Regions from separate parts of the Homo sapiens genome. Here all the other regions are linked to region 1. Evidence: promoter capture Hi-C in 16 types of primary human blood cells and fetal thymus (Javierre and others, 2016). All regions are on one chromosome and are shown on one strand. The core of a region is centred on a gene start or on the middle of the fragment in contact, and the rest is flanking DNA. Distances in the headings are between cores, read along the strand shown. Region 1 holds the start of IKZF2 (IKAROS family zinc finger 2). Region 2 has its middle 10 kb from the start of MREG. Region 3 overlaps MREG (melanoregulin). Region 4 has its middle 85 kb from the start of LINC00607. Region 5 has its middle 2.9 kb from the start of LINC02862.

What was found. Contacts are between HindIII fragments. The CHiCAGO score rates a contact against its expected background, and 5 or more counts as called.
Region 2: a contact is called between a fragment that was not itself captured here and the fragment with the promoter of IKZF2 in region 1, in 1 of 17 cell types (fetal thymus). The highest score is 12.4, in fetal thymus.
Region 3: a contact is called between a fragment that was not itself captured here and the fragment with the promoter of IKZF2 in region 1, in 1 of 17 cell types (total B cells). The highest score is 6.7, in total B cells.
Region 4: a fragment that was not itself captured here is called in contact with the fragment with the promoter of IKZF2 in region 1 in 1 of 17 cell types (total B cells); the score reaches 5.3 in total B cells.
Region 5: a contact is called between a fragment that was not itself captured here and the fragment with the promoter of IKZF2 in region 1, in 1 of 17 cell types (total B cells). The highest score is 6.4, in total B cells.

Annotation. Positions count from the first base shown.
Region 1 is chr2:213,147,314-213,152,861 of GRCh38, forward strand. It overlaps IKZF2 (IKAROS family zinc finger 2), which reads right to left and starts at 4,299. Exons shown (of 9, transcript NM_001387220.1): 1 at 4,100-4,299; 2 at 2,831-2,934; 3 at 1,283-1,331; 4 at 395-499. The coding sequence starts at 1,316. RefSeq lists enhancers at 173-222, 1,924-2,023 and silencers at 4,390-4,449, 4,530-4,889. The HindIII fragment of the contact is 7,158 bases long and covers 1-5,548 here.
Region 2 is chr2:216,020,986-216,026,533 of GRCh38, forward strand. It overlaps a transcript of MREG not described here. Among named protein-coding and RNA genes, the nearest start is that of MREG, 10 kb to the left of the region's middle. The HindIII fragment of the contact is 2,027 bases long and covers 2,324-4,350 here.
Region 3 is chr2:215,996,110-216,001,657 of GRCh38, forward strand. MREG (melanoregulin) reads right to left here. Exons shown (of 5, transcript NM_018000.3): 2 at 197-356. Among named protein-coding and RNA genes, the nearest start is that of MREG, 15 kb to the right of the region's middle. The HindIII fragment of the contact is 2,347 bases long and covers 3,126-5,472 here.
Region 4 is chr2:215,925,601-215,931,148 of GRCh38, forward strand. No RefSeq gene overlaps it. Among named protein-coding and RNA genes, the nearest start is that of LINC00607, 85 kb to the left of the region's middle. RefSeq lists an enhancer at 2,011-2,537. The HindIII fragment of the contact is 6,678 bases long and covers 143-5,548 here.
Region 5 is chr2:215,269,310-215,274,857 of GRCh38, forward strand. No RefSeq gene overlaps it. Among named protein-coding and RNA genes, the nearest start is that of LINC02862, 2.9 kb to the right of the region's middle. RefSeq lists an enhancer at 2,056-2,604. The HindIII fragment of the contact is 745 bases long and covers 1,941-2,685 here.

The DNA of each region.
Region 1 (5,548 bases), core at 3,049-5,548:
AGCTTTCTACCAAGGCAACATAAAATTATTTCATTTTTTAACTGTGAAGAGTCCTTTGGAAGTGACGTTTCCACATTTTTTACCCAACAACAACAAAAAATCCAGTCATAAACCTGGCAAGTCAAAACAACAACCAGCAAATTCTAACCTTTCTTACCTGATACAGGTAAGCACCAGCTCCCAAATGCCACCTTGGGATAGTTCAGACTAGTAAGCAGGCTCATGTTTTATAATACTAGAATGAACAGGAATAAATCTGTGTTGTTCTTTCTTTAGCAAAATCTATAACAGTAGCTATACCACAATGTGAGAGGACCCCACAGACCTAACAAATTAAAGTCTGTTGCTGGAGAGACACACACACACAAAAAAAAATCATAAAATGAAGACTTACTGCTTGTCATGTGACTTGGTGAGGCATGCTGTCCATTGGGTGTGCTTGAGGTGAGGTCAATTGCCATATTGGAGTGCTCCCTTTCGGGTGAAAGCTCATTGTCACCTGCTTTCACAAAATATAATCTTTTGGTTTCTATTCATTGTCACATAAGATGTAATTACTAACTTTGCTTTATACACGCAATGGCATGCATAGCCTTCAAACTGTAAGGTAATACATTTTTCCCTTAGAAACTATAAGGAAATATCATTTAGAAATATACAGTTGAATGAAATGATGAGAAGCCATAATCAACCCACAATAAAAAAAATTAACAAAACTTTATTATCTCAATACATAAGTTGTTGATTTCTAAAGTATCTTTCAGTTGAAAGAAATAACTTTTCTTTTAACATCTAATTTAATTGTTAAGCACACAGAATTTATAATGAGCATTTTCCAAAATGCTGGCTATCAGAGAGAGGATGGAAAAGACAGGTAGCTAAAGAAATGTCAAGTTAGGAAAGCTAATTCTCTTTCACATAATATGTCTGAAAAATTAGGTTACAGAGAAGTAAATATTTAGTACACACCATATTAATAGACATATATGAAACCTGGCCTATTCTCAACTTACAACAAAGTAAATTATAAAAAGTAGGAAAGTGTTGAACTGCTAGCTACTATTGATTTAAGTACACTACTTAACTTAGTATGTTTCTATATTTCCTTCTTATTTCACTTCAGTGCTGTCATTTTCTCAAACTCATTCAAAGGTGAAATTGTGAACAGAGAGAAAAAAGAGTACAGAATTCTCAATAAAGTTTCATAATCCAGGAATTAAAACACAGGTAATACAAAGGCAACTTTATTACCAATAACAAATCAATGAAAACTAATACTTACACGTTATATAGCCATCAATAGCCTCTGTTTCCATAGTCAAAGTGCAATGCTGCAAAACAAAAGATTATACCCTTAATACAATGATTCCTTTCAGTATCTGCCATTAAATTCTTAACTTATTTGAAGCTCCAAGCAGTTAGTCCATGTTGCTGCTGCCACCTGTGCCCAGAAACATACACAGTGTACTGTATGTGCTCATTTGCAAGTCACTGAACTCTTTCTGCAAATGATCTGATTCCTGCTGGAGATAGGATAGGAAAGATAAGTGTGCTGTGAGATGGGCTAGAGCAAAAAGGGAATGACTCTCTTAATCAAAATTTATTGGGTTTAAGAAAAAATAGGGGGTATAGCTCAAATGTGTCAGCTTTAACTGGGATTTAAGTGTTTTACCATTCACTACTTCCCACAATCACACTGCAGTTTGAGGACTTCCCCAGTATACAGATAGCTCTATTCACAATTGTTGCAAGTTGGTTCATCATGTTCTAATAGGGAGGGGGAGGACAAACAAACATAAGAAAACAAAACAAAACAAAAAACTTAGTGCCCAACGGTGTCTTGAAGATTTCTACAGCAGTTGGCCAACTCCCTGACTTGTATTGACATTTTAACCTACCCCAAGTTCTGTGTAAGCACCTGTTCAATGTAACCTTAATTTCCTGCCAGACCATGCTTGGACACAAATGCCAAGCCTACTTAATACAGTCTGATTTTGAAAATTTCATAAACTTTGGTTGTGCTAGAGAGAATCATTTAAAAAAAAAAAAAACTTTGGGCAATTATTCTCATGCACAAACGCCACACAACAGAACATAATTCTCAGAAACAAAAGTAAACTGTATGAGATGACACCCCCTAGCTTTGATTCACATAATGAAAAGATCGATAATCTAACTGTATTCTGTGGGGAAAAAAGTTTAAGAATTGACAAGTCCTGAGAAGATTTTTACTTTTTTTTCCCCCTTTGGCCTTGGTCCTTTTTGCCTTTAGTTTCAAAACTCTCACTGCACCAGCAGCTAAATTATTCACAATGAGCCATTTCTGTATTGATCGCCAAGTATATTTAGCCCTGGCTCCTGGAATTTCTCCATTACTTACTGGAAAACAGGCAGCTTCACTTCTTGTCTCCAAAACCACTTCCCTTCTCCCTCCCCTCCCCTTCTTCACCACCACACTCCCTTACCCCCCCCCCAAAAAAAAACTTTTATTTCTTTCTTTATGGAATAATCAGATCAAATTCCCAACTCAGTCACTACATAGCACTTAAATTTCAACCTGCTGTACTGTTATCACATTCTTTTAAATTATGATTACATAAGGCTTTAAAGAAAGAGATCCGTAAAGTTTAAAAGAGGAGCAGTTTCTTCGGATATTTTACAAATGAGCTTATCTCTTTAAAAATGTACACATTTAACACACACATATTAAAAAGAAAGAAACGTCAGGGAGAAGCGAAAGAAGGCTGCCCCATCAATGAAATGGTTATTAACCCTCAGAGAAGGAAAGAAGGAAAAAGAAAAAGGAGAAAGAGAAACGAAATGTACATACAAAAGAAATTGTCCTTTGATTAAAAAAGATTCATCACCATTTCCAGCTCTGTCGGGAGATCTCAGCTTCTTCTAACCCCTCAAAGAGGAGGTGACAATGTCGGGCTGAAGATAAACGGAGGGAGAAAGAAAGAAGTTTTTTGTGTTTCCCCCTTCTCTCTTTCCCTCCCTTGCCCCCTCCAAGCCAAGCCCCCTGCAGAGTTCAAGGGGAGGAGGAAGGAAAAGCACTTTACAGGTGGGTCATTCCAAGCCCAAATCCAGCAAACAGATCGGCTGATAAACAAAACCAAGAAATGAGAGAGAAGAACACCCCCCTCCTCCTCCTCCTCCTCCTCGTCCTCCTCCTCCTCCTCCTTCCACCCCTCCCCCTCGTCCCTTAGGGATGGTCTAGTAGGAAAAGTCACTCAGGAATGGCACCACGTACTTTCAGGAAAGAGGAAAAAAAAGAGAGAGAGAGAGGTCAGTCAGTGCTATAGCAATGCGATTAACAAGAGAAAAAACTTGATCCACCGGTTCCTTAAGAATCGACCAAAAGCTAAGACAAGAAAACTGAAAGAAAAGGGGGGGGGGGCGGGTAGAGGGGAGGGACAGTCAGGCAGAACCCAGCTAGGAACCCAGGCCAACTTCACAGGACTGTTTTTGGCCCTTGGCAAAAAAGAAAAAAAATAAATAAATCTTAATTCCATCTCTTTCGCCCATACTAGAACCTGTCAAAGTGATTTAACTGCTGCCTGTTTACATGTGTCATACCAGGGTTTTTGGTTTTTTTTTTTTTTTAATTCCAACAGGATCTGGATATTACCTTCTATCTGGACAGCTTCAATTTATTCCAGCCTACCCAATCTTTCTTCTTGGAATTCAAGTTAAAACAAAGCAAAACAAGTCCAAATTCATGACAGCTATAGAGATGAGAACTGATTAATCGATTAACATCCCAGAAACAGATTACAAGGAGGGGACGATAAATTAAGGCAGAGGACATCATCTTCAACCCGATTCCCTGAGCGTCCTTTACAAAAATCATTACCCTAATCAGAACCACAATCCATCCCTCCCAGAGAAAAATACCTATATTATTATTATTATTACTGGTTAACAGCAACAAGTCATTTGATCACATCACAGTGCAAAACGAGATGCTATATAATTACACTTAACTTTGAAAACACTCCCCCCTTTGCAAATCATACACATATTTATATATAATCTATGAATCAGAAGACAAAACAAGAGCTGTTCTTCACCACGCAAAAGCCAAGCGGAGATTTACCTCAGCAGTGCATGCAGTAAAATAATCCCATCACCCTTTTGTTTGTGTTTACTGTTAATGTGTCCTCTGTCTTTCTTTCTTTCCTGTGCCTAACGTGTGTTTGTGCACTGCAGTTGGTGGTGGAAACTAAGGCAGTGGATCTGTAGCTAAGGGTAATCCTGTTTTTACTTCCTCCATCTTCAGCGAGGAGCAGGGTTAGCCCGGGACAGCTGGTCAAACCCCGAGAAACCGATCCGGTGGAGCCCGAGCACATCTCCCCCGCCGGCCGGGCTCGCGCAGACGCCCGCGGGCGGAGGGCGGGCTGGCGGCGGCTGCGGCGGCGGCGGCGGCGGGCGGCTGGCGGCGGGCAGCGGAGCCCCGGGCGCGGGCGAGCGGACGTGCGTGCGCGCGCGTGCGTGTGTGCGGGGCCCGAGCGCCTGTGCGTGTGTGTATGAGAGCGCGTGTGCGCGCGCGCGCGGGCTGGCGGGCGCGTGTGCGCGTGTCTGCGCGCTAAGCCGCTCGGCGCGCTCGGCAATCGATTACAGGACAAGTGCTGCCCCGGAGGCTCCGCGACGCGCGCACTCCCTCGCGCCCACCCGCGCGCCCGGCCGCGTCGCCCCCAGCCCGTTGGTCCCCGGACTGCGGACCCCGCCCCCGACGGGGGCCAGGTAACCCGCTTCCGAGTGTGCCACGGCGACCCCCATCTCCCCTCCCCGTGTCATAATAAATCTCACGTTTTCTGCCGGCTGGAGGCTTGGAGCGGTGAGGTGACGTTCATTTCGGCCGCGTGAAGTTTTCTTTCAAACTGGGATTGGTGGGGAGGCCGGGGGAAGGGAGCGGGGCGGCGATCTTGGCGCCCTGCGCGGAGTCCGGGAGCCGCGTCCCGGCCGAGTCGGGGAGTGTGCGTGGAGCCTCCCACCTACTGGTCTCCGCCGGCAACTCTGCGGCCCCATTTCGGAAAGCGCACCGCATTGACCGGGACCTGAAGCGGGATAAGAGGGGTCCTGGGGAATAGACTGAGAAAGACATTCATGTCTGAGATGAAGCTCAACTATTACTATTTTGAAAGTGCTTTAACAGTGCAAGTTTAAAAACTAAAGTGTTGACTTGCTTTTTCTCCCCCGGGGCATGTGCCACGTCTTCCAAAGTCAAAGGAACGGATGAGTACAAAAAGTTGCTACCCTTGAAGTGTTACCTATCACTATCAACCACAGCTTGTTTATTTGGAAAGAACTTAAGTGAACCGTCAAGAGAAAAACAAATGCATATTCTTTCTACAAATAGTAGCATTTAGTATCTTTCCTGACCACATTTGCGAAAAGAGGGAATAGAGACTTCTATAATTAAAGGGAAAAGGAAAATGAAAGGAGCTGAAAATAGTGAACTGTGTAGTCTGGATGGCTGAAATTTGAAAACACATGAAATTATCAGGACTGCCAAACGGTGTTCCTGAGAAACCATATCACAGAT
Region 2 (5,548 bases), core at 2,087-4,586, 2.9 Mb after region 1:
TCGGCAGAAGCAGAGTTTCTCACAGAGCGATGATCCTAAACACCTGCACTAGAATCCCTAGGGATGCTTACGGAAACTCCAGATTCTTGGACCCTATTTGACATCATCTGAATTGATGTTCTTCAGTAGGGGCCCAAGAATCCATGTTTTTAGTATTTGTCGGGCTTTTTAGGCTTTTCTGAGATGTGGTCTCACTCTGTCACCCAGGTTGGAGTGCAGTGATGCAATCTCGGCTCATTGCAACCTCCACCTCCTGGGCTCAAGCAATTCTCCAATCTCAGCCTCCCGAGTAGCTGGGACCACAGGCATGCACAACCACACCCAGCTAATATTTTGGGGTTATCCACCCGCCTCGGCCTCCCAAAGTGCTGGGATTACAGGCGTGAGCCACTGTACCCGGCTAAATCTGCATTTTTAAAAGGCTCCCAAGCCTTTTATAGGGACTAGGATGAGAAGGGAAGGGACTAAAATGAGACAAATGAGGAGCTTAGAGTGCAACATATAAAGAGACACTCGCTTTTGGGGCCCACCCTGCAACTGTACAACCCCAAATGTGAGTGCCTCCTTTAATGTTGTTCCATAGGCCCCTCACTCCCCTCTCACCCTAGTCACCCCTTTTCCAGAGGCTTGGGAATTCTGAGGCACGTCAAATTTATGAACCACTGGCAGGGTTGTTTAGAGTATGGTCTTTGGCATAACAGTGCTTCCCTGTGGCTGCTGTCAGGATTGGGTGAAATAACACAGAAAGCCCTTAGTACAATTTCATGGGAAATGGGAAGCACTGCGTAAACGTTAGCTGCAATTATTGTTAAGTATTCATACTTTAGTCAGATCCGACCCCATCACCTTCCATTGCCAACTGTGACCATCTGAAAGGATTCAACTCAACAAGTATTTATTATCAACTGTGTAAGCATGGCACTGAGCTCAACCTCTTGTGGAATGCAAAGATGAAAAACAAACAGTACTTGGCCGGCTGTGGTGCCTCAGGCCTATACTCCCAACACATTGGGAGGCTGAGGCAGGTGGATCACCTGAGGTCAGGAGTTCAAGGCCAGCCTGGCCAACATGGTGAAACTCCGTCTCTGCTAAAAAGACAAAAATTAGAAAAATTAGCTGGGTGTGGTGGCTGGCTGGCACCTGTAATCCCAACTACTTGGGAGGCTGAGACAGGAGAATCACTTGAACTTGGGAGGTGGAGGTTGCAGTGAGCTGAGATAGTGCCACTGTGTTCCAGCCTGGGTGACAAGAGCAAAACTCTGTCTCAAAAAATAATAATAATAACAGTACTCATCCTCAGAGTACTATCCAGAGCCAAAAATAGAAAATTATGGAACTCAAATGTTCTGTATTCATCTATGCCTCGAGTCACCCATCCTTCAGTTCCTACCATGTGCTCTTCCCTACCTCACCCCCATATTTCCCATGATTAACTATGCTGCAATCTCTAAGTAGATTCTTATAGCTAACTATGTTGTCATCTCTAGTCTCCCATAGTTAATTATACTGCTACGTCTAACAATATTCCCACTTTAATTATATCTCCATCTCTAACTATACTCCTATATTGAACTCTGTTGTCACAGCTAATTCTCCTGCCATAACAAACACTTTCCAGATGCCCAGAACAGTCTCAATTCTCAGCCCCAGAGATGAGATTTGGAATTCAACCTCTTCCTACCTCCGGAAGACAAGCCCCCTACTATTCCAAGTTTTCTGTGTTCTCCAAAGTCTCTCCATATTATACCTAACCAAAATTAAACATAAGCCTAGACCCAGCTATCATCGGTGTGCTTCCTAATTCAATTAAACTCTAAGAAGCAGAAGCAGAGTTTCTAAGAAGCATTTATTAAGCACTTGCTATATGCAAGGTGACTCGAAGTTGCAAAATAGGAGAAAATATGCATCAAAAACTGTAGTAGGAGAAAACCTGAGCATCATTCACATTTGCTATGAAAGGCGACCGGAGGCTTGCCTCAACTTTAAGCCCAGATCCTACCCATCTGAGTGTTAAAGATAACCGAATTTATGCCTTTAAATTCGTGTTTTTAGTTCACCATTCCTTTATATGGTTTCTTTCTCCACAACACTCAAGAGATACATCGACAGGCCAGAACCCTGCAACTCTCCCGGACAAGTTCTACCAAAGTAAAGACAGCAGGTGGACCTCCCCGACAAAGGTTATATACAAACCTTAGACTTCCCCACAAAGGTTATATACAAACCTTCCTATAATCCTCTGTGCTGCCACCTCCTGGCATCCAATTGTAAATTCACTGCAGTCTCTTTGGAGATGGGGCTAAGGATCTCAAATAGGTTCTAAAGCTTTCTTTTACTCAACAGATGGAAAGCTGCTGTAGCCACAATGCCTGTATGAACCTAGAGCTTAAAGGGACATAGTAATATTTAAGTGGGAGATTTAAACTAGCTGTAAACTAAACTCTAAACCTGTTAGGGCACTGCTAAATTGAGCAATAAGTAAATCCTCTCTTTTCTTGGCTACCATGTGCCAAATAGCTTTGATTATTGTATTACTATTTCATTTCATCTTATTAAGCATTGGTATTTGATTTATTAGCCTGAAAACCATGGAAAGTGTATAGGCCACTAGATATATTTCTTAAATAATATAAGGGAAGCAATTTAAATGAAGCATTAAAACTTCTTGTTTTTACATTTTATTTCTCTGAGTGTGTGTGTGTGTTAGAGTCTCACTCTGTTGCCCAGGCTGGAGTGCAGTGGCACAACCTTGTCTCACTGCAACCTCTGCCTCCAGGGTTGAAGCGATTCTCCTGCCCCAGCCTCCTGAGTAGCTGGGATTACAGGCACCCACGACCATGCCCAGTTAATTTTTATACATTTAGTAGAGACACGGTTTCACCATGTTGGCCAGGCTGGTCTCAAACTCCTGACCTGAAGTGATCTGCCCATCTTGGCCTGCCAAAGTGCTGGGATTACAGGTGTGAGCCACCACACCTGGCCAGCCTCTCCAACTGATAAATGCTTAATATTAAATATTTTGCTTGACCAAAGTAGAGGGCCCTTTCAAGTATATGCCATGAGTACCCCTTTGAATCACTTTGTGGAGCTGAAACTGGATGCCTCTAAGCTCCACTCTCCCTTGCCATGCCGAGCCTTTCAGGGTCTTCTCTCCTTGAGCTCTTTTCAATTTAGAAAGGTCTTGTCACTTCAGGTAGGGAATTTAAACTGGGCCACCCCTCCCTATCACTCACATCTTTCCTATGTACCCCATAAGAAGACCAGGTGCTGGCCAGGCACGGTAGCTCAGACTTGTAATCCCAGCACTTTGGGAGACTGAGGCAGGCAGATCACCTGAAGTCAGAAGTTCAAGACCAGCCTGGTCAACATGGCAAAATCCCATCTCAACTAAAAATACAAAAATTAGCCAGGCATAGATCACACCACTGCACTCCAACCTGGGTGACAGAGTGAGACTCAGTCTCAAAAAAAAAAAAGGACGCCCCGTGCCCTCTCTTTTGTCCCTAAGCCAAATGACTTATCAAAGTACTCCTCAGTCCAAGGGAGAGCAGAACCTGTCCAATTGTTGTTAAACAAATACGGTTTCTTGCCTATAGAAAATATATTGGCTGGGTGTGGTGGCTCATGCCTATAATCCCAGCATTTTGGGAGGCCGAGGCGGGTGGATCACCTGAGGTTAGGAGTTCAAGACCAGGTTGGCCAACATGGTGAAACCCCATCTCTACTAAAAATTCAAAAGAAAAAAAAATCAGCTGGGCATGGTGGCTCACCCCTGTAATCCCAACTACTTGGGAGGCCGAGGCAGAAGAATTGCTTGAACCAGGGAGGCAGAAGTTGCAGTAAGCCGAGATCACGCCATTGCACTCCAGCCTGGGCGACGGAGCAAGACTCTGTCTCAAAAAAAAAAAAGGAAGGGAAAGGAAGGGAAAGGAAAAAAAAAAGGAACGGAAAGGAAGGGAAAGGAAGGGAAAGGAAAGGAAAGGAAAGGAAAAAGGAAAAGGAAAAGGAAAGGAAAAGGAAAGGAAAGGAAGAAAGAAAGAAAATGTATTATAAAGATGAACTGGCATAACAGTTTGTATCCCTTTCATGATTCCTGGCACTGTGACATCCCTGAAAAGCATGAGAATGCATGAAAATGCACATCTCATTTTAATGTTTATGTTTTCTCTATGGCAACATAGGAGAATGGTTTTGTAGTAATGCAAAACTCATTAATAAAGGCAAAATCCTTAGCTGCCACCCCACTGATACCCAGAAGAGGTTGATTTAAAGATCTCGACAGGACAAAAATTGTAAAACTAAGAAAGAAGACCTCTACTACCCACAGACAGCCCAGTAGCTCAAAAGCAAAGCTTCTCAACTTAGAGGAGGTGCAGACCTTCCTTCCTTCTAACTGGCAGAAAATCTGGTACTGCCAATTAGCTTCCCAGGAAAGCTAACTCTGAGATGGAATTTAGCATACAGGAGATTTATTATGAGTGTGCATAGAACCAACACCTGTGGAAAAGAAGGGCACAAAGGAACTGATTGGGCCTCAGTCAACCCTATGGGGAGTTCTAAAGACAGAATGAAAATTCAGAGCTGCTCTGAGTCAGTCAGTAAGCGAGAACTGGCCCTTTCTGTCCCCTCCATGACAATCAGTCTTTGGATGAGGCCTACCTGGGAAAGGAACATGGCCTTAGCCGAGGCAGCCCTCTTCAGCAGAGGCTGTCCCAGAAATGGGCTGACAGCTAGGGCCGTGTCGGGCAACACTTCCAGCAGCTCCTTCCTTCCGGAGGGAGGATCTAGAGCCCGTGAATCTCAGCAGCCACTGCTCGGCAATCCCTGCACCGAAATCCATCCGTGTGGGCAGTCACACAAGCTCAGGATTTCCTTCCTCTCAAAATGCCAGGAATTCTTTTATCAGATTTCTTTAACATAAGATGAAGTCCTCCAGGCATGAACACTTAAGCCTTCAGCCCTTTGGAGGGAACATTCTAGAAATAAGGTTCAGGAAATTGTCCACAAGTAGAAGCAGTCTCACCCACATAAACATGATGAAAACTCTTCCCTAGAAGTACTGACATATGCTACAATGTGGATGACCCTCAAAAACATTATGATAAGTGAAAAAAGCCAGACACAAAAGGTCACACATTATATGATTCAATATACATTAAATATCCATAGAGAGACATAACTCCAGCTGATGGCTGCTGGGGACAGGGGTGGGGGACAGAATATGAAGAACAACTGCTTAATGTATATAAAGTTTCTTTCTGGGATGATGAAAACGTTTTGAAACTGGACAAAGATGATGATTACACAACATTGTGAATGTGCTGAATGCCACTGGATCATTCATTTTAAAATGGTTACTTCCATTGTGTTTATTTATTTATTTATTTATTTATTTTTGGAGACAGTGTCTCACTCTGTTGCCCAGGCTGGAGTGCAGTGGCACCATCTAGGCTCATTGCAACCTTCCCAGGGTCCAGCGATCCTCCCGTCTCAGCTTCCTGAGTAGCTGTGACTACAGGCATGCGCCACCATGCCCAGCTAATTTTTT
Region 3 (5,548 bases), core at 3,049-5,548, 2.8 Mb after region 1:
CTCTATATCAAGCAGGTCAATCAAGACTAGCTATAATTAGCAACCAGTGATAATATATGCTGCTAAAATACCTGCCCTTCATTTCAAACATTTCATCCTTCATTCTTTTTGTTATTTCAAGGGGATCTTCTCAGGAATTACTATTTTTTACTATATAGCATCATCCGCGCACAGCAAGACATCAAAAGGTGCTCACCTCTGAGTCTTTGGCCTGCTGATTACGAATGACTATCAAATTGTACAGGGTTCTGTCGTCGTCTGCCTCTGTGTGGGACACATCATGGGGCATACTCCATAAATTCTTCTCATCATCCCTCACCAGAGTTGCTCCAAATGAGGAATATGGATTGTTATCACTGTTGTATAAAAAAAGGAAAGATTGGGGTTTTATAATATACATAAAATGTTATATGTCATATGCATGCAACATACAATATCAATTAAAACTTATACTATGTAATATATAAATATATTGTCAAAAAGGTCTGAATTGTCTTTAATAATTAAGCATAACACAACAGAGCAGTAAAAACAAACCAAAAATATAAATAAATCACTTTAAAAAGAACAGAGAACAGACGTACCTGAGCAGAGGTAATTACTACAGTTAAATATGAAATTCAGCACTGAGTACCCCAGAAGCTAAGACAACAAAGGAAATTCAATTCTTTTTTTTTTTGAGACAGAGTCTCGCTTCATCACCCAGCATCACCCAGGCTGGAGTGCAGTGGCACGACCTCAGCTCACTACAGCCTCCACCTCTCAGGTTCAAGTGATTCTCCTGCCTCAGCCTACCGAGTACCTGGGATTACAGGCGCCTGCCACCACGCCCGGATAATTCTTTTATTTTTCATAAAGACAGGGTTTTGCCATGTTGGTCAGGCTGGTCTTGAACTCTTGGCCTCAAGTGATCTGTCCACCTTGGCCTCCCGAAGTGCTGGGATTATAGGTGTGAGCCACCGCGCCCAGCCAGGAATAGAATTCTTGTGTGATTAAAAGAAGAAAACAATTAACATGAAGGGATGAATGTTTGACTGGCTCTGAGTTCAAGGAAGCATAGTAAACTTGGAGTACAATGATATATAATAGCTATCAAATTCCTTATGCCAGGAAAATTAAGTAATAAACATGCGTACCCAAAGACTTTCAATAAACAAGGCAGAATGTTGAGTGAGAATTTCAGTAGTCCCATTCTGTACATTTGTTTTATGATTTATGCCTTATAAGGTGGTACCTGGGTGTGGACTTACAGAGAAGATTAGTGACAGAGCATCACATCTGGGGCATGCCTGCACACAGCCCCAGTTAACTTCTGTAACCCCCAGTTGACTTCTGTGGGAAGGACTGGTAGGGTCATACAGAAGCTATTCACTTCATCTAGTAATATGTATAAAGCACTGACTACATGCTAATCACAGGGCTCAATAAAATTGTGAGCAAAACAGACATCATCCCTGTCCTTGGACCTCACTAGAGTCTAGCATGGGAAACACATTAATGAATGATCACATGACTATAAAATAAAAATTGTGATAAGTGCCATTAAGTGGGAGCTCAGGAGGCCATGAGAACATATGCAAGCTGCTAAGAGAAAATCCTTATGAAGGCAGGCGTCAGGTAGGTGTCATGAAGAAGAGGTGCTGGAGCTTTAAGTGGAAAAACAAGAACAGAGTTGCAGGCAGAGGAAACAGCATCTTCAAAGGCCTGGGGTGGAAGGAAACAGGAAATGTTAAGATGTCAATATGGGATGCTCAGAAGTTGGCACTAAGGAAATTTTGCAACAGGAAGCAGAGTGCCAGTCCCCAGATTGGGGTTCAGCAGCAGGAACCCACCCAGCTAGGGAGGGGCTCCAGCCCTAGAGTGATGAGGTACAGGTCAGACTGCCAATCACCGCCTCAAATTTTGGAAGACAGGGCCGGGCACGGTGGCTCACGCCTGTGATCCCAACACTTTGGGAGGCTGAGGCAGGTGGATCACCTGAAGTCAGGAGTTCAAGACCAGCATGGCCAACATGGCAAAACCCCATCTCTACTAAAAATACAAAAATTAGCCAGGTGTGGTGATACATGCCTGTAATCCCAGCTACTCGGGAGGCTGAGGCAGGAAAATCGCTTGAACCGGGGAGGCAGAGGTTGCAGTGAGCTGAGATCGCGCCATTGTACTCCAGTCTGGGCGACAAGAGCAAAACTCCATCTCACAAAAAAAAAAAAAAATAATAATAATAATAATAATAATAATTGGGACAACAACCAGGGCCCACTTACAAAAACTAGGGCAAAAGGTGGGACAGAATCTTGGAACCAAGGCTAGCAGGAGACCAGCTACCTGAATCAGCATGGGGTTTAGAGACTGAATATTGAACAGTGCTCCTGAAATCCTTGTGGCTGCAGGTCAGAAGTTTAGGGTCTGGGACTGAACAAAGTACCTGGCCCTATGGGGAAAGGTGCAGATGATGGGAAATCAGACACAGCTCAGGCACACTATGCTCAGAACCACGCTGTTTTTACTGATTAATACCACAAAAGCTAGAACACAGGCAGCCCCACAGCCTGACTCTTCCTAAGAATGATGAACCAGTGAAAGAGGAGGAAAATGATGCCTTTGGGCCCTGCCCATGTGAACTTTTATGAGCATGTCAAATTCATTCATTTCATTCATTCCATTGTTTGTTTATTCAACAAATGTGGAATAAATGCCTGCTGTATACTGAGTACCGGGCTGGGTGCCATGGGGACATGAAGATAAATAGGACATTGTCTCTGCCCTTAACATAACTATAATGCAATGAGATCAGTACATTTTTTTAAAAAAAGTCTACACAGATTGTTGTAGGAACAAACAGGAAGAAGTGATACGTTATGTATGATGAGAAGGAAGTTCAAGAACTAACCAGACCTGAGGACTGAACAGGCTTCCACCAGGAAGAGAAACAAGGGCAGAGTTATTCCTTGTAGAAGGATCAGCTCAAGCCAAAGCAGTATATGGAGGCTTCAGGAGCCCACGGGGTTGGGGAATCGAAGTATTCCTGCATGACTGCAGCACGTGGTGTGCGGAGCAAGGAAAATGGAGAGACATGAAGAAGAAAAGGTAACGTGGGGTCAGACTAAAAGTAGTGCTGGTGTCCAAGCTTCATTCTGTGAACTGCAACATTATCAACAGGATTTTGAGCCCTGTCAGGTCTGGATTTTAGAGAAATAACTCTGGGTGAAGGAAGAACAAGAAGATGGCTTAGGAGGGTGTCACAATCAACTGTCACACGGGAGTAGGTGTAATTTTCAAGCCATGCTCTTTGAGGTCCTGGTGTCAGGGGGCCTTGGGACCACAGTGGGGCAGAAGTAGAGAAAGAGATGGGCAGGGCTTCTCTGGAAGAGATAGAAAGAAGCCCATGAACCAACCACAACCAGAGCAGCTTCTCCATTCAAATAGTCTTTGTTAGAGCTAGAAGGAAGATTGTTTGAGGTACAGGAAAAATGGGGTTCTACTGCTAAACAAATACATAATTTTGAACATTCTGAAATTATGATTGAGATAAAAGTAAGCGAGGTTGAGAGCGAGGGAAATAGCAGTGAGAGTGGAAATGAGGACCGATTCCAGCAGCATCAGAGAGCGGGTGACAGCAGCCCATGGTGGGAGGCACAGAGGTACCAGCGAAGGTGACGCCTTCAACTGTAACACATGGGGCAGAAGCCACGGCTGACATGATGAGCCTGCAGGATGTTCAGGGAGATGTCAGGGATCTGGGTTTAGGAGCAAGGACAGGGTAGAGATCTAGATGTGGGAGCAATACGCAGCATTTCATGGCATCACAGAAGCAGGTCAGAGAATCAGAAGAATGGTCTTACGGGATTTGGAGAAGGAAGAGAATAGGTGAGTCAAGAAAGAGAGATCAGGCAGGACAAACAGCAGGTGGACACCGGAGAAGTGTCGATAACATGAAAGATGCTGACTCCAATTTCTTTCTGCAGCCAATGATATGCAACCACTGCATAATATATTCAGGGCTTGAGCCAAGGGCTCCTGCATTCCACCCCTCACGTTACACAAGCATCTAAGGTAAGAAGGATGGGTGGCATTGGCCTACTTTGCAGATAGGGACAAGAATACTGCAGTGCTTGACTTCTTCTGGGCCAGACAGCCAGCTGACAGTCCCCCCAACATGAGTTCCTGGGTGGGGATCTCGGAGGAGCCACTGTTATATAACTCAACATCCAAATGCTGTGACAGGGATGCACTCACAGTGAAGTAGCTCAGATAATAACTACCTGTGTGGATGCTCCCTGTACAAACCAGCAGGTTCCCCTGTGGCTTGTCCCCAGGATGCACTCTCCTTGAGTCACCCAGACCTGGCACAGAGCTTCCACCAAGAGCTGCAACCATGGCTTCCAACATCACAATAACTGCACCTCTGGAGCAATGAAACCCTGGTACTTTTCCTGGCATTGGTCTTCCATCTTCCCCCAGATGTGTTTCATTTCTATGTCTTGTCTCCTCAACAGGTGGGTCAGTTCCTCTAGGGCAGGGGTTGTATCCAGTATTTCTTCTACATTTCTACATTTCTTCCCCACATCACCTAGCAGGGTCCTAGGACACAGCAGTTGCCTTAAAAGTACTTGTTGAACGCAACAAACTGTGCTGTGATCCCAATCTGCTGAAGGAAATCCCAGACATAACTCATGGTTACCGCCTTTTAAAAATTTCCCTAAAGCAGGAGCTTTAGAAAGGAGCCAGTATGTACCTGAAAAATCAGTAAAAATAACGTTAGACCATGAATAATCTAGCCACCTTTTACTTTACTAAGCCACAATTTATTTTCCTATTTTAAAATGACGATCTCAGCTGCCTCCCTGGCCAATTCCCAACCCTCTCACAACCTCTCTCTCTGTCTCTCTGTCCCTCCTCTCTCTAGCTGTCTCTGTCTCTCTTTCCTGTCTCTTGCTCTCTCTCACTATCACTTCTTTTCCTCTTTATTTCTCCTCTCCTCTCTCTAGCTGTCTCTGCATCTCTGTCTTTCCTCTCTTTTTCTCGCTTATCACATCCATCCACACACATACATGCATGACTTCAGCCAGCATAAAACACCAGCCTCTCGTCCTTAATCCACAAGCCCAAGTAAAGCTCTATAGGAAGGTCAACCCCAGCCTGTTTAGAAGTGCCCATGTCTCCAGAAGGTGAGTGCCTCCTGGGTTCTCACCATATCTAGCCCTGCCCTAATTAGAAGCAGTATTCCCCTAACAAGCCTCCAACTCTGCCTAGCCACTGATATTCAGGGGATGATGTAAATCAGGAAAGAGAACCAACCGCTGTGCCCCTGGACCGGCAATGCCTCCCAGCAGTGGTATTCTCTGCGAGCTCCTGGGCCCTCCCCAGCAGGATCTGACCTGCTCGTGGCTACGAAGCAGCCTCCTCCACTCTGCCCCTCTGCCTCTCCAGACCCAGACCTGGCTCCTGCTTTGTTCTTATTCAGTAATTGCAAGCTTTCTTTGGGGCATAGGAAAGGTGGGGTGCCACTGTTAAATAAATAAACAAAGAACTTTTTTCAAAATATTAG
Region 4 (5,548 bases), core at 2,232-4,731, 2.8 Mb after region 1:
AATCCATTATTCTGTTTTGGATCTCAAACGTGCTTTCTTTACTATTCCTTTGCACCCGTCATCCCAGCCTCTCTTCGCTTTCACTTGGACTGACCCTGACACCCATCAAGCTCAGCAAATTACCTAGGCTGTACTGCCGCAAAGCTTCACAGACAGCCCCCATTACTTCAATCAAGCCCAAATTTCTTCCTCATCTGTTACCTATCTCGGCATAATTCTCATAAAAACACACGTGCTCTCCCTGCCAATTGTGTCCGACTGATCTCTCAAACCCAAGCACCTTCTACAAAACAACAACTCCTTTCCTTCCTAGGCATGGTTAGCGCGGTCAGAATTCTTACACAAGAGCCAGGACCACACCCTGTAGCCTTTCTGTGCAAACAACTTGACCTTACTGTTTTAGCCTAGCCCTCATGTCTGCGTGCAGCAGCTGCCGCTGCTTTAATACTTTTAGAGGCCCTCAAAATCACAAACTATGCTCAACTCACTCCCTACAGTTCTCATAACTTCCAAAATCTATTTTCTTCCTCACACCTGACACATATACTTTCTGCTTCCCGGCGCCTTCAGCTATACTCACTCTTCGTTGAGTCTCCCACAATTACCGTTGTTCCTCGCCCAGACTTCAATCCGGCCTCCCACATTATTCCTGATACCACACCTGACCCCCATGACTGTATCTCTCTGATCCACCTGACATTCACCCCATTTCCCCAAATTTCCTTCTTTCCTGTTCCTTACCCTGATCACACTTGATTTATTGATGGCAGTTCCACCAGGCCTAATCGCCACACACCAGCAAAGGCAGGTTATGCTATAGTACAAGCCACTAGCCCGCCTCTTAGAACCTCTCATTTCCTTTCCATTGTGGAAATCTATCCTCAAGGAAATAACTTCTCAGTGTTCCATCTGCTATTCTACTACTCCTCAAGGATTATTCAGGCCCCCTCCCTTCCCTACACATCAAGCTCGAGGATTTGCCCCACCCAGGACTGGCAAATTAGCTTTACTCAACATGCCCCGAGTCAGGAAACTAAAATACCTCTTAGTCTAAATAGACACTTTCACTGAATAAGTAAAGGCCTTTCCTACAGGGTCTGAGAAGGCCACTGCAGTCATTTCTTCCCTTCTGTCAGACATAATTCCTCAGTTTAGCCTTCCCACCTCTATACAGTCTGATAACAGACCAGCCTTTATTAGTCAAATCAGCCAAGCAGTTTTTCAGGCTCTTAGTATTCAGTGAAACCTTTATATCCCTTACGGTCCTCCGTCTTCAAGAAAAGTAGAACGGACTAAAGGTCTTTTAAAAACACACCTCACCAAGCTCAGCCACCAACTTAAAAAGGACTGGACAATACTTCTACCACTTTCCCTTCTCAGAATTCAGGCCTGTCCTCGGAATGCTACACGGTACAGCCCATTTAAGCTCCTGTATAGACGCTCCTTTTTATTAGGCCCCAGTCTCATTCCAGACACCAGACCAACTTAGACTGTGCCCCCCACCAAAAAAAAAACTTGTCATCCCTACTATTTTCTGTCTAGTCATACTCCTATTCACCGTTCTCAACTACTCATACATGCCCTGCTCTTGTTTACACTGTTTTTCCAAGCCATCACAGCTGATATCTCCTGGTGCTATCCCCAAACTGCCACTCTTAACTCTTGAAGTAAATAAATAATCTTTGCCGGCAGGACTCTGCCGAATCTCCTTAAGCACTCTCTAATCAGATATCCTGAGTTGTCCCAATTCTTAGACCTTTTATACCTGTTTTTCTCCTTCTGTTATTCCATTTAGTTTTTCAATTCATACAAAACCATATCCAGGCCATCACCAATCATTCTATACAACAAATGTTTCTTCTAACGTCCCCACAATATCACCCCTTACCACAAGATCTGCCTTCAGCTTAATCTCTCCCACTCTAGGTTCCCACGCCGCCCCTAATCCCGCTTGAAGCAGCCCTGAGAAACATCGCCCATTCTCCCTCCATACCACCCCCCAAAAATTTTCGCCGCCCCAACACTTCAACACTATTTTGTTTTATTTTTCTTATTAATATAAGAAGGCAGGAATGTCAGGCCTCTGAGCCCAAGCCAAGCCATCGCATCCCCTGTGACTTGCACGTATATACGCCCAGATGGCCTGAAGTAACTGAAGAATCACAAAAGAAGTGAATATGCCCTGCCTCACCTTAACTGATGACATTCCACCACAAAAGAAGTGTAAATGGCCGGTCCTTGCCTTAACTGATGACATTACCTTGTGAAAGTCCTTTTCCTGGCTCATCCTGGCTCAAAAAGAACCCCCACTGAGCACCTTGTGACCCCCACTCCTGCCTGCCAGAGAACAAACCCCCTTTGACTGTAATTTTCCTTTACCTACCCAAATCCTATAAAACGGCCCCACCCTTATCTCCCTTCGCTGACTCTCTTTTCGGACTCAGCCTGCCTGCACCCAGGTGAAATAAACAGCCATGTTGCTCACACAAAGCCTGTTTGGTGGTCTCTTCACACGGACGCGCATGAAACTTGGCATTGCCATTTTACAGATGAAGGCCAGGAAGTTTCAGCAATCTGCCCAAGTTAGGAAGTGGAGAGCTGGAGGTCCCACCCAGGACTGCCTCGTGGATGCAGCTTCTCTTGCCCTCATAGCTTCTCTCTCGTGATACATGTTAGGCTGTCCTACTTCCTCCAGGAAGTCACCCCACGTTCTCGTGAGCCAACAATACCATTCTTCACACATCAACAATGTGAGCCAACTCCCACATAAAATGCCGACCAACAGACCAACTGCAGGGCATTTCATCCCGAAATATGTAGCAGCTGGATACAGAACAGAAAGAGACACGAGGTGGAGACACGAGGGTTCAGGCTGGTTTGTCTACAGTGGAATGGAGTCTCCTAAACTCAATGGCAAAGGTCACAGGATGGTCAGCTGTGAGAAGAGAGCAGGGAATCAAGGGCAGCAGCTTGTTTTGTCCTACAAACACTGTCCTAAAAACACTGCAAAATTCTCATGTTGAAACAAAACTCCTGGATATCTACACAAAAATCTGCACACAAATATTCCTAGCAACATTACTCATAATACCCCAAAAGTGGAAACCACCTCACTATGAACGGAGTGTCTCCAAAATTCATATGTTGAAGTCTTAATCTCCATTGTGATGATATTTGAAGGTGGGGCTTTGGGGAGGTAATTAGGGAGAAGGAGGAGCCTTTGCGAATGGAATTGATGCCGTTAGAAGAAGAGACAGGAGAGAGATCATCTCTCTCTGCCACAGGAGGATCCAGCATAAAGATGGCGTCCTGCAAGAGCTCCCTCACTGAGCACTGAATCAGCCAGCCGCTTGATCACAGACTTCCAGACTCCAGAACTGTGAGAAATAAACGTCTGTTGTTTAAGCCACTCAGGCTGAAGCGAGTGTTGTGGCAGCCAAACAGACTAAGACAAACCCAAATGCCCATTAACTGATAAATGGATGCATAAAATGTTATAATATTGTATGCAATATTATTTCATAAAAATGAAGGAAATTATTCCACAATACAAAGGAATACAATTATGATTCATGCGACAATACGGTTGAATCTTCAAGACATTATACTAAGTGAAAGAAGTCAGGAACAAGGGTCCCATATAACCATAGGTTCCACTTACACAAACGTCCACAACACATAAATCTAGAAACAGAAACTACGTTAGTGGCTGCCTAGGGTTTAGGATGAGGAGGGTAGATGTGAAGAATGAAGGAGGTGTGACTGCAATAGGGTACAGTTTCTTTTAGGGTAATGAAAATATTCTAAAATTGATTGCAACTCTGTGGATATGCTGAAAACCATTGAATTATATACTTAAAATAGGTGAATTGCATAGTATGTGAATTATACCTCAATGAAGCTGTTACCAAAAAAACCCCCACAATATTCTACTTAGAATATTGTGCTTAGAAACAAAATAAGTTCTCCAATTGTTGGGGGTCTGGGGAGGAACTCATGGTGTTTCATCAAAATGATCCAAAATTGATTCTGTTCTGATCTAGCCTCTTCTCCCAGACATCCTTAACTCAGCAAATGGCCCCACACTCTGCCACAGCTAGAAAGCTATGAGTCATCCTTGATTTCTCCTCTTCCTGCACCATCCCCCAAATTCAAATGCATCAGCAACTCCTGTCCATTACCTCTCCAAAATACACCTCACACTTCACCCATTTATGCTCCTCCTCAATGCCACCAACCTAGTCCAAACCATCACCCTCTCTCAATTCTGACACATCTTGTTCCCATTCTTGCCATCCTCTGATCCATTCGCAATGCATGGCAAGTTATTGTTTCACAACATAAGTCAGCTCCTGGCTCTCCAAGGCAGACACCCTTCTCTGGTCGCACAAGGCAGGAACTGAAGATCCACCCTTCCTCGTGCCTCCAGCGCTCTGCTCATCATGACCCCCTAAGCTACTCCAGACATGCTCTGCTCCCTTTCGCCCTCAGCTATGCCAAAGCCTTTATCGCCTCCAGCCCTTTGCACTTGCTGTTCCCTCTGCCTGGGCCCCTCTTCCTTCACATCTTTGCATGACTGACTGGCTGTGACTCATCCTTTAAGGGTCCCAACTCAGACCTCTCTCAGAGAAGAGGCCCCTGACCACCCTGTGCAGAGGGGCCCCACTCAGTTCCACCTTATCTCATCCAGTGTTCCTGTTACAGCACTGCTTGCAAATTGTAGTTACCTTGTTTGTTTGTCTACTCTGTTCTCATCTGCCTTACCCACTAGAAACTGGATCCAATCTTTTCTTTTTATTCAAACACCTTCTATAAATATTTGCTTTTTGTTTTTGTTTTTGTTTGAGACAGGGTCTCACTCTGTTGCCCAAGATGGAGTGCAGTGGCGCGATCACTATGAAAAGATCAGGTCACAGGGATACAAAGACGACCAGGATTTGTAGTTGACCAGGATTTGGTGCTACCCTAAAAGAGGTCTTCTTTTCTGGGGGACAGGGACACAGTAATGTAAACGTGTATTTCAATGCAATATGATAAATGTTCTGAGTACTTTTGCTATTGAAGCACAGAGATAAAGCTCTCTCCAAGTCTGAGTCATATTTGTTCTGGAAGAATCAAGGAATTTTGAAGACAGAAAAATGAAGCAAGGGCTCTCCGGTTTTATTTGCAATGTTCTGTGTTTCCAAATCACTTTTAGTAATCTGCCTTTTGAGAGAGGCATCCCCTTTACCACCCTGCCTAAGAGGAAAATTAATTCGATAATTATTTAAAATTTGGTAGGTTTCAAAGGAATGGGTATTTGGAGCACACTTCACTAGTCTTTCCCCTTTTGTTTTAAAAATTTGCCAAAGTAAAAAGTTGCTTTAGAAAGTAGAAAACCAATAATGACACTAGCAACCTGGAATGCAGTAGAGGCAGCTATCCGGCATATCTCAGATTATAATATTCAAATACATGCCGAAGACAAACACAATTTGGCATGCTACAGAACTAGAGAAACAGGTAGGCCTGAGAGTTACTTGAATTTTTTCTGGGGCAGAAACTCAGA
Region 5 (5,548 bases), core at 1,063-3,562, 2.1 Mb after region 1:
TTATAAATATGAGTTATTTTAATGTGCTGGTATTAAAACACTGGCTTAGGTTGGCCTTTTTTTTTTTTTTTTTTTGGCTCTTAATTGGCAATTGGCAGTTAGCACATAAAAAGCCCTTGAGTCGTTTTCATTTAGGAGAAGGAAAATTGATCCCTTTCTACTTTAGCTCTCTCAGTAGACACAGAAAAGCAAGTCGGGGGTGGGAGGGGTCTCCCGTGAAATAACTGCTTTCTGCCAGAGTCCCAGCAGCACAGCAAAATGCCTACAGCCTTTTTCTTAATTGGGAAAAGAAAAGCGTGAAACAGTCCCAAAGAGTGAATATGTACAACAGTTGCATAAACGATGACAAAGCATTTTTTAGTAAAGTCTTAAATGAAAAGCCTTTCTCTATGTTAACTCTTAAATCATGTTATCTATTTTTATTAATAAAGATATAAATTGACCAGCAGTTGATGTCTTAAATATTTAGCAATGACTAGATAAGAAGCAAGGATCCGCTGTAGTGTACTTCATTTATTTCAGGCTTGCTTTAAATTTGTTTTATGAGTCTGATAACATTAAAATAACTTGAACACCAACGTTTTAAAACATATTAAAAGCTCGATGAAGAAATCTGTAAACAGAGATAAATAAATATGTGAAGATCTTGTAAGCGGCTCCTCTGGCATTTATAGTCCTATACTCAAAAAAAAAAAGACACTCTTTGCAGTTGTGCCAGTGCCCTCTAGCGGTCAGTGTGGTGTCTACAATTTTTTTAAGTCATTCCCGGCCTTCAAAACGTGCTGACCACCTCCCATTCTACCAGCCAGCCAAGAGGAAAAAAAAAAAAAAATCAGCCAACCAATAGAATAATCAATTTTCTATAATGCTAGAGACTTAGAAAAAAACACGCAGAATAAAATAAAGAAAAATCATACATCATGGTTAGAAATACAGCTTTGTACATTAATGGAATCTCAACATTTTGAAGAAAGAAGATTCCATCTCGTGGTTCTTTTCTTTTATGGTCAAAGACGGACTTGAGAATTTTAGAAAAGCTGTGGACTTTCTTCTCAGAAAAAAAAAAAAATGTGCCACCTGTAATCTCAGCACTTTGGGAGGCTGAGGCACGAGGTGAGGAGTTTGAGACCAGCCTGACCAACATGGCGAAACCCCGTCTCTACTAAAAAATACAAAAATTAGCCGGGCATAGTGGTGCATGCCTGTAATCCCACCTACTCAGGAGGCTGAGGCAGGAGAATCGCTTGAACCCAGGAGGCAGAGGTTGCAGTGAGCTGAGATCGCACCACTGCACTCCAGCCTGGGCAACAAAGTGAGACTCCATCTCAAAAAAAAGTGCATGTACCTATAATTTCAGGGGTTCATGTAACACCTGAAGGCCTTGCATCCTAAATTAAAGGCTTGGGGTTTTATATACCTCTACACATCCCAGGTTCCATAGGTTAAAAATCCTGTCTGAAATGGTGAGTTTAAAAATCAATTTGGAGAAGGACATGTACAGAATGACTGTATGCAAAATAATACTGTATAGTTTCTATGTATATATAGTAAAAATATGCAAACTATGGAATAGTGAACATTGAATTCATGAGAGTTGTTACCCTTCAGAGCAAGAAAGGGTAATGAGATGGGGAAAAATGAAGGTGGCCTCAGTTATGCTTATACTGCATCATTTATTCAGAAACTATTGAAGCATATACGGCATATTATTTTAATAAAGCTTGGTGGCAGATGTATAATGAATTTTCATTATTTTATTTTCCATTCTTATCTATAAAGTTGGTATATACCCCAAAATTAAAAGGTTTCATTCAAAAACCTGAAATTATTATAAGATCTAATTCCATTGTCATGTAAAAAAGGTTATTTTTCCAAAACATCCAAATGTAAGTTCATGTTCTGAGAAACATATTTAATTCTCTCTTGTATAAAATCACCCAAGCTTATTTTCAAATACAAGCTAAAATGTTAATATTAAAAAGCAAACCATTGTTCTCTTCACAGAGTCCTCAAGTAGATAAGCCTTTATTTTTATGGCCATAATTTGATTTCTTGATAGGGAAAGAAGGAGAAAATTCTTCTGAAACTAATGTTATATTGGAACAAAATTTATTATCGATCCATATTCATTCTACTACCAGATATAATGAAAGTTTGGATAAGGTATTATTCTTTCTGGGGATTTTATGTATAGCAAAGTCAGTGTGAAGCCGACTATGTCATTGCTTGAGAGTCTGAACCTAATCGCCACTTAATTGATTCATGCTTGTAGCTGCACTGCTGCATAGCATCCCAGAGTGCTCAGATGCTACCTGTCAGGTGCATCCCATCACAATGCAAAGCAGCAGGTCTTGTGCCTGCCTTGATTTAAATGGAATGCTGGAGGAATGAAGCAGCCCAGGCAATCTGGAAGGCTGGTAGGGAAGAGGATCAGCTTCTGTTTCACCTCCCCATTGATAAAACTGACAGATCCCAGGCAGGCCTGAGGAGGTAAATTATGACCATAACATTAGCTAACTGTGGGGTAATATACACTGCTGGCCTATGGGGTCAGATCAAAGCTCCAGTCCTCCCTGTCCTTGACACCTAAGGAGAAGCAACATTAATTTCTGAGGATCTTTATTGGGCCACAGTGTTGAGGCAGAGCGTGGAACTTTTAATGTCATGGTAAGAAAAGGAGGCAGAAGCTTATTCTCTAACTATGCTCTCCAGTTGGATTAGGGATTTTAGAGACTCTGTCATTTTGGACTTGTCTTATTAAAATGATGTCTCCGCCAGCTGCCGCTCTAGCAATTAAGACAGGCCTGCTTTCCACCTAGTAATGAACTCCTCCAACGGCCTTTTCTCACCAACCACCCACACCCCACTTCCTATTGCCACAGGAAGGCCTGGCCTGGGGTAGAGTGTCTAGGTTTTGGGCGTAGGGAACCATCCCACCTATATTCTATTTTTCTTTGGATTTCTCTCTCTCTCTTTTTTTTTTTTTTTTTTTTTTGCCACTAGAGTGAGATCTGGAGGAACTTCATTTAGGCCTCTGACAAAAGACACATAGGAATGTTTTCAGCCCTATGTAGTCCAGCACAATTCGCCAGGTCTAGGAATTCCAAAAAGGATTTTGGCACCAAACCCAAACAGTAATAAACAGTGTGCACAGGCCAGGCCTCACCATCAAGGCATGGATTGTGTCTCTTATGGGGAATCTAGTAGACATGGTTGTGACTGTAAGTGGTTTTTTAGGGATTTGGTGATCTTGAGTCCCGGCCTAATATCAACTCAGAAATGACTGGCATATACCCTTGGAACAGTGTAGAACTGGGGGAAAGATAATAGGCAAAATGAAGATGGAGACATCTTGTATGAATCACCATCTCATGGCGTGGAACTATCAACTTGGCTTTTCCAAATACATGATGTTCCTGAAACCTCTGAATTACATCTCTGAATATTTGGATATTTAAGCTATTTTGATGCCTTGCTTACATTTAAGCTACCTTCCAAAGCAAATTCTATCCATCCTAATTGCTTTCAAACCAATCTTGCCTTAAAAATATTCCTACAAATCAACTGGTGTTGAATATTGATATAAGTAAATACTCTCCTTTAGACTAGAAAACCAGCATGTTTCATCACCAAATTTTTAAAAAGCAATTAATCTTCTCTTACCCATATTGAATAAGAATTCACTTTAGAATTTCCTTCTCATGAGGCAGAGCTTGACATTTAACAATTCTCATGTTTCATTTTCAGAAGTAAATGAGTATGCTGCAGTTAACCTGAGAGTTGATTCATAGTTAGGAATACAGGGAGTAACGTGGGGGAAATACCTCCTTTCTTTAGCTCAGGGGAACACACTGAGTGCCTGTAAAGTTACCCACAGTGCTATCCATATCGACTAGATTGTAGTCAAGTAAGGGCATACGATCAAGGTGCCATCAGGACCTAAGCAATATTCATGATCTCTGACAATATGGATCATGCACTGAAATTCTACAATTGTCCTTAGAGAAAATCAAAAGTTTATAGCACCACTTTTACCATAGAACATTTTTTCTTTTGGAATGGGGACAAAAAAAAAAAAGAAAAAAAAAGATTCATGGAAAGGATTTGGTCTCTGAATGCAGGTGAACCTGAATTTGAATCCTAGTGTTTGTAAGCCCTGACTATGTAATTTTGCTCATGGCCTGGTGCCTAGCAGGTGCTCAACAAGTCTTTGTTTTCTCTGAAACAGATCTGTATTTGTATCCTATTTTTTTTTTTTTTTTGAGGTGGAGTCTCACTCTGTTGCCCAGGCTGGAGTGCAATGGCATGGTCTTGGCTCATTGCAACCTCTGCCTGCCTGGTTCAAGGGATTCTCCTGCCTCAGCCCCCCAAGTAGCTGGGATTACAGGTGTCCGCCACCACTCCTGGCTTTTTTTTAATTTTATACTTAGTAGAAACAGGGTTTTACCATGTTGGCCGGGCTGGTCTCGAACTCGTGACCTCAGGTGATCTGCCTGCCTCGGTCTCCCAAAGTGCTGGGATTACAGGTGTGAGCCACCGCACCTGGCCTATATTCAGCTCCTATTGTGGCTGTAACAAATTACCAAAAGCTTCAAGGCTTAAAACAACACAGATTTATTACATTTCTGAAGGTCAGAAGTCCTTCAGCGTCTTGAGCAAGGCTGTGTTTCCTCTGGGCACTCCAGAGGAGAATGTTTCCTTGCCACGGCATGGCCCCACTACTATAGCATTTTGGACGCTATAAAAAGAAAAATCTCCTAGGCCAAATTGCCTCTACATTTCATTGTAGACACAATTAACTAAATTTATTCTTCTACAGCAGTGATTTTCAAACTTTTTGGTCTCGAAACCCCTTTATACTCTTAAAAAATATTACAGACTCCGAACGGCTGTAGTTTACGCAGGCTCTATCTGTCAATATTTATCATATTTGAAATTAAGATTGGTATTACAAGAATACACGAAGAGCACAGAAGCACACATTCCATTAAGCATCGGAACAATGATATCATTACACGTTATGGAGCCACTGTAAACCCCATTCATGAAAGAATGGGAGTGAAAAAAGCAAATAACATTAGTACTACTATGAAAAGATCTTTTACCTTGCAGACCTCCTGAAATGGTTGTAGGAGTCTCTGGGCCACATTTTAAGAACTGTTGTTCAGCTGGTGTGAAAGAAGGCGCAACAGCTAAAGAAATGCCAATTCTAAATCTCTCAAAGCAATCATCATGCTGACTATGCCCAGAACAGCACAGCAGCCAGTGTGGCCTTCTGCTGATAGGAAAGACCGAGCAGTCTGACTCTATCCTTTCCCTAAAGACTCTGGCTGTGGGCAGCCTCCATTCCCTGTGGTGTTGGAATCAACCAATGAGGAGGGGAGAAAACGCTTAGAAATAGTTTGAACAATAATAGAGTCAGCAGTTATAGTTGGTTCTAACATATTTTTAAAACTGCATTGTTATGATTCTGATGATCATACACAGTGCGGGAACTACTAGCTATTTCACCTATATATGAGTAAAACATTTGGGGAAATTTCCCTCT